2 separate regions of the Homo sapiens genome follow, and region 2 is linked to region 1. The links are contacts of gene promoters, found by promoter capture Hi-C in blood cells and fetal thymus (Javierre and others, 2016). All regions are on one chromosome and are shown on one strand. Each heading gives the region's core, a stretch centred on a gene start or on the middle of the fragment in contact. The rest is flanking DNA. Distances are from core to core; before and after follow the strand shown. Region 1 holds the start of PNP (purine nucleoside phosphorylase). Region 2 holds the start of ADCY4 (adenylate cyclase 4).

The links. Contacts are between HindIII fragments. The CHiCAGO score rates a contact against its expected background, and 5 or more counts as called.
Region 2: a contact is called between the fragment with the promoter of ADCY4 here and the fragment with the promoter of PNP in region 1, in 1 of 17 cell types (non-activated CD4 T cells). The highest score is 5.8, in non-activated CD4 T cells.

The regions. Positions count from the first base shown.
Region 1 is chr14:20,467,893-20,470,681 of GRCh38, forward strand. PNP (purine nucleoside phosphorylase) reads left to right here and starts at 1,514. Exons shown (of 6, transcript NM_000270.4): 1 at 1,514-1,643. The coding sequence starts at 1,633. RefSeq lists enhancers at 1,281-1,785, 1,976-2,045, 2,076-2,205 and a silencer at 1,446-1,565. The HindIII fragment of the contact is 7,340 bases long and covers 1-2,630 here.
Region 2 is chr14:24,333,686-24,336,511 of GRCh38, forward strand. It overlaps ADCY4 (adenylate cyclase 4), which reads right to left and starts at 1,386. Exons shown (of 25, transcript NM_001198568.2): 1 at 809-1,386. The coding sequence starts at 967. It overlaps RIPK3 (receptor interacting serine/threonine kinase 3), which reads right to left. Exons shown (of 10, transcript NM_006871.4): 10 at 2,340-2,710. The coding sequence ends at 2,490. RefSeq lists silencers at 23-122, 783-942, 1,013-1,092. The HindIII fragment of the contact is 4,552 bases long and covers 1-2,474 here.

The sequences.
Region 1 (2,789 bases), core at 264-2,763:
GCAAAAGAATGGCTCAAACCCAGGCAGCAGAGATTGCAGTGAGGCAAGATCGTGCTACTGTACTCCAGCCTGGGTTACAGAGTGAAACCCTGTCTCAAAAATATATATATATATAAAGACAACATATCTTTACAAAAGATGGTTTTAGAAGGTCCCTCTGATAAAAATTAAGTATTAAGTAAAAAAAAAAAGTACTGTGTAAAAATCAGCATGGAACAGAAAATGAGGGTGGCAGCATTGGATTCCTGCATGTGAGAAGTTGAGTAGTGCCAAACAGATGTACATATCCCGTAAGTAACTGTTTGTGGTTATTTAAGAACGAAATTTTTTTTTCAATTTGTGTGCATTGTTATTTTCAAAGTGCTAGTAAGTTCTCAGGAACCAGCTACTCACTCTGTTGCCCAGGCTGGAGTGCAATGGTGTGATCTCAGGTCACTGCAACCTCCACCTCCCGGGTTCAAGCCATTCTCCCTGCCTCAGCCTCCCAAGTAGCTGGGATTACAGGCGCCTGCCACCACGCCCAGCTAATTTTTTGTATTTTTAGTACAGATGGGGTTTTGCCTTGTTGGCCAGGCTGGTCTCCGACACCTGACCTCAGGTGATCCACCCACCTCGGCCTCCCAAAGTGCTGGGATTACCGGCGTGAGCCACCGCGCCTGGCCTTTATATATAAATTTTTTTTTAATTTTTTAAATTAAAAATTAAATGTAAATTTAATGTAAAAATGTAAATTAAATGTAAAAATTAAATTGTAAATGTGGGCAGAAGTAATAGTTGTATTCTACCAAAGACACGCTATTTATGTTATATTCTGGTACCCGTGTATTCCGATAACAGAATTTTCTTCGTGGGAGGAGTCCTCTAGTTACCTGAATTGCTTGGATCAATATTGCGCAGATCAAGGGATTATCTGTGTCCCTACCCACCAAATCCATCCTTATCCTTTCTGTCGGCATCTAGGACCCCGGAATTCTTGCCTGAGAACTTTTTCTTCTCCCGGTCTGGGCCTGGATGTGCTCTCCTAAACCCTGTATCCTCCAAGTTAGCACTGTTGCCGGGGGCGACCCAGCTTCCCTTGTCCAGGGAGCAACTCAGACACAGTCTCGCTTCATTTTTATTCTGGGGTTGTACAATCTAAGGTATGAAATTTTTCCTTTTTGAATCTCTCACGGTTTGCTATTGACACAGCTGGAATGAGGTTGCAAGGAGAGGGCTGGGGGCTCTCCTCCCTACTTCTAGCCCTATTTCCGCATAGGCCTTCTTGCTGGGAACTCCTGCCCTGCGGACTGGAATGGGTACCGAGATGAAATGCTGGGTGCGCTCCGGCTCCCCCCGCCCGCCCCGGGGCAGAAGGTTTAGGGCTGGGAAGAACTCTGATTAGGTTTACAGCCCAGGTTCAGCCGATTGAATTAGGGTGTGTCACCATGGAGACAGGGCCGGCCCGCGTGCTCGCTTGCCATTGGCTGGGGACTCCAGGGCAAGGGATATAAGCCAGAGCCTAGACCAGTGAGCCAACTGTGCGAACCAGACCCGGCAGCCTTGCTCAGTTCAGCATAGCGGAGCGGATCCGATCGGATCGGAGCGGATCGGAGCACACCGGAGCAGGCTCATCGAGAAGGCGTCTGCGAGACCATGGAGAACGGGTGAGGAGGGCACCAGGCCCGCAGGACCCTTGGGGAGGGGCAGGTGCTGTGACCCGGGAACCTGGCACACTGGGCCCAGAGGGAGCTGGCGGAGGGAGCGAGCGCCCAGGGGATGCAGAGAGGCCTGGCACTGAGCCTAGTGTCGGGAGCAAGGCGGCAGAGTCATGCGGCAGCCAGCGCGGGCAGGGACGCACGCGGGAATCGAGCTGGGGTGGCGCCACCGGAGCAGGAAGGGGACAGGTCGGTGCGGTCTAAGCTACTCCGTAAAAGCAGCCGTTGTGTGTCTCCGTGTGTGTGTTAGGGGAACAAGTGGAGAGTGAGTATATGTATATATCCCTCACTCCATACCAGGAGGAGGTCTCCTCACCCCCTGCGCTCTTCATAAATTCCCATGCTAGGGTCTGGGTAAAGCTGCGAGGTACTTTTGGTGCTCAAATTCGGAGTTCCTCCTTTAGAGGCAAGATTACTCACCTCCTTTGCCAGTTGCACTCCTCCCTTCCTTCCAGACTGGCAGTATGATTAACTCGGTGGGAAGTGACTGCTAAGTGGAGACGGAAATCAGTCACCGAACTGAGCAACAGTCCTGTGCTCACTTCCCCCACCCCACGCCTTTGAAAACTCTTCTCTCGGCTTGGGTCCTGGATATCCCAGTCCAAGTGACCTGCATTAGGCATCACAGTTGCTTTTGGATGCCCAGGGAGCCAGGGTGTTCTTGAGGGGACTGATAGCCAATGAGGAAGTGCTGTGAGATGTGGCTAGACATGCCATGTGGCGGCAGCTTCACACATTCATTTCCTTTGCACCTTTTGGGGATGCCATTTGATTAACATTTTACCAGCTTAATTGCTTCTCTCCATTGTCCTGTGGCTCCGTTGACCAGCCCCCAACCTACCTGATCCAACTGCTTCCCTGAGGGTAGCCTGGTGTATTGTGCAATCATGTCTGGTTTCCCGGGCTCTGCTTTCCAAGTAAAAAATTTCCTGTGAAAGCTTGGTTAGTTGTGTTCAGCTCTGTCACACCTCATTGCCACCTCTGAAAGCAACGTTTGGTCTTCCCAGATGGATGTGAGAGAACTGGACTTGGAACTGGGAGAAAAGTAACACGGGTTGATTCTTGCTAGTGTAGGGGTTCTGGGTAAGTGCCCTG
Region 2 (2,826 bases), core at 136-2,635, 3.9 Mb after region 1:
TTCGGAATGAATGTCTCCAAATCTGGCCAATTTGCTCGGGAGATTCCCGGAGCCGGGGACCGCGGCCGGCAGCTTGAAGGGCGGCGCGAGGCAGCGCTCGAGCAGCAGGGGGCGCCAGGACCCGCGGCGTCCCGCACCTCCCTGGCCACCAGGGCTGCGATCTCGCCACCTGCCTCAACTCCAAGCAGAAGCTGCACAGCCGTCCCAGCATTTTGTCCCCACCTCTTCCCGGATTTAGGCGTGGACCAGCAAGGATTGGCCGCGCCCGGTGATTTTCCCACCTTGCCTCCAAGCAGTGAAAAGAAAACCAGGGGCAGGCCATTTCTAGAATTGGATTGAAGACCTTCTTCCTCCCCAAACAGAAACTGGACATGGGTTTACTTTGGGACTCAGTGAGAGCCCGGTGGAGGGTGCCTTCTGGGAGTCTGTGGGTACAACTGCTCTACATCCCCTAAGAGGGAGAGAAAGGCAGGAAATGAATTCCCCAGGGGCCTCCTAGAATTTCCCCTTTGGAAAACTGGAAAATCCGGTGATGGATTTATTGTAGAACCCGTAGACCACGGATGTTCATAAAGTCTGTCAGAACCCGGACAGAAACGAGAAGCATCCAGGACTCAGCTTTCTCCCTGAGCAGACCCAGAAGGGTAGAGTGACTTGCCCAGGGTCACTGCAGTTCCTAGCCAGGCTCAATGGTCCTTTCTTTCTCTGCTCCCAGCAACGAAAACACATCGAAAAGAAGACCCCACAAACCCCAACCCCGAAAATGCTCCCCAGGTAGAGACCCTCCCGCAGCAGAGGCTCGGCTCACCCTGCCGCTGGCCCAGGCCACTGCGAGCAGCGCCGCGAGCGCACAGAGCACGATCCCCAGCAGCAGCAGCAGCAGCGGGTACTGCTGGCTCAGGCTGTAGTAGGTCTCGTAGAAGAGGTCTTCGCTGGGGGGCGGCCGGGGGCTGAAGAGGCGGGCCATGATCTCCCCAGCCCCGAGCCCCGGGGCTGGCTAGGGCCGGGCGCCGGGTTACCTCCTTCGGCCCGGCGGGCCCCACCTGAGCTTTTCTCACCCGCTCAAAGCCGCTACCACCCCGCGCCCCCAACCTCGTGGCAATCCCGTCTCCTTTTTCAGGCCCTCCCTGCGGCCTCCCAGCCCGCTCCCAGCTGGCGATGAGGGGATCCCTCAGTCCTTTCCTCCTCCTCCCTCAAACCCGGATTGTAGAGGTGCCCTAGAAAAGCCTCATCGCCAGGAGGGCAGGATTTGGGGTTGGTGCGAGGGAGCCCCGGGTTCCCCTGATCCCCGAACTCACTGCCCGCGGCGCTGGCGCAGCGGAGTGGGCTAGGTCCGGGGAGGGAGCCGGGGACCTGATGGCGGAGTCACGCTCGCCGCTGCGCTCTGGCTCAGAGTCCCGGGCGACAGGCGCTTCCCTCCCGGCGCCGCGGCCCCCTCCCACTTCCCCGACGGGACAGCCCGGCCCCTTCCTGTGCCAAAGCCGGACTCCCCTGGTCTCCTCCCGCACTTGGTTTTGTCTCTCCTAACACCATCGCCTCCCCGCTTCAGCCCCTTCAGGGAAGGGCAATGTGGACCCTGGGAGAGATGCGAAGGGGTGGGCTGGGGTGGACCCAATGGGATGTGTCCAAATGGAGGTGAACGTTTGGTAGTGGGGAGACCGAGGGCGGGGGGCTGAAGCCTGGCGAGAATGTAGGGAAGAATGTGGGTCCTGGTGGGGATCTAGGTCAGAGTTGGGGGCGCTCATTCTCTTGACCTCTCCGCTTGGCTGGCAACCACTACCACCGGGTTTGAACTGTTCATGCTCCGTGGGAGGGGTTGCGCCTGTGTATAGCTTTAGGAGCCATAGCTTTCCACTCCCGAACAGCAACTGGGAATCAAAAGGGAAGCAATGTCCAGGAAGCAACCTGAGTGTGTGGTGGAGGCAGGTATGTGGCGTCATGATCTCTAAGAGCCTGGGGGCACCGTGCGGGGCCAGGTCTGTGATCTTTCACATCAACTCATCCCTCGCCAGAGCCCTGCAAGTGAGTCTTGAGAGCCCGGAAGAAAAGGGACCACAGCCTCTATCCCCAGAGTTTAGGGTTAGGGTGGGGTCGCCATCCTAGGCTTTAGAGGAAGCACTGCCCTGAGATTAGAGAGTGGTCTGGGGAACCAGGCCTCTAGGATTCCTTCCTGTTGTAGCCGGCTGTGCCCTGACCTTGTGTGCCAGGCCATTGCCCACTCCCAGCCCCCAGCATCCCCACTTCCTGCCATAGCAGAGCTGTGGTGCCTCCCTATCCCTCACTGGCAGCTCCCACCCCCATCCCAGTCCCTCCCTGCCCCTGGCTGAGCTCAGACTGACTAGCATTCCATCATGTTTATTGACTCCTGGGGGACAGGTCACAAAGTCAGTTTGTGGGCAGGCCAGACTGCCCTAGAAGGAAGTCAGGGGCCTCAAGGGGTGGCACTCTTCCTTAACTCGTAACTCTTGGAGGCAAGCTTGGAAGGTGCTTTATTTCCCGCTATGATTATACCAACCCTGTGGCCTGCTCCAGGCTTCAGGATCTTTAGGGCCTTCTTGCGAACCTACTGGTGGGGGGTGCTGCAAGCCCCTCCCCTTGCCCGAAGGTGCCAAGCCCCATGTGGGCAAGGCAGTTGTCTGTTGCATAGTCAAGTAGTTGTTGTCTCCAACTTGCACCCCAGAGCAGTTGTATATGTTAACGAGCGGTCGCCCTTTAAGAGAAATAGTGATGGTGGCAGGAGGGTTTAGCTGTCAGAAAGGCCAAGTTGGGGGTGGGTGGGGAGTATGAAGTCTCTACTTGTCAGTGGCTGTGTCAAGGTGTGCCCTG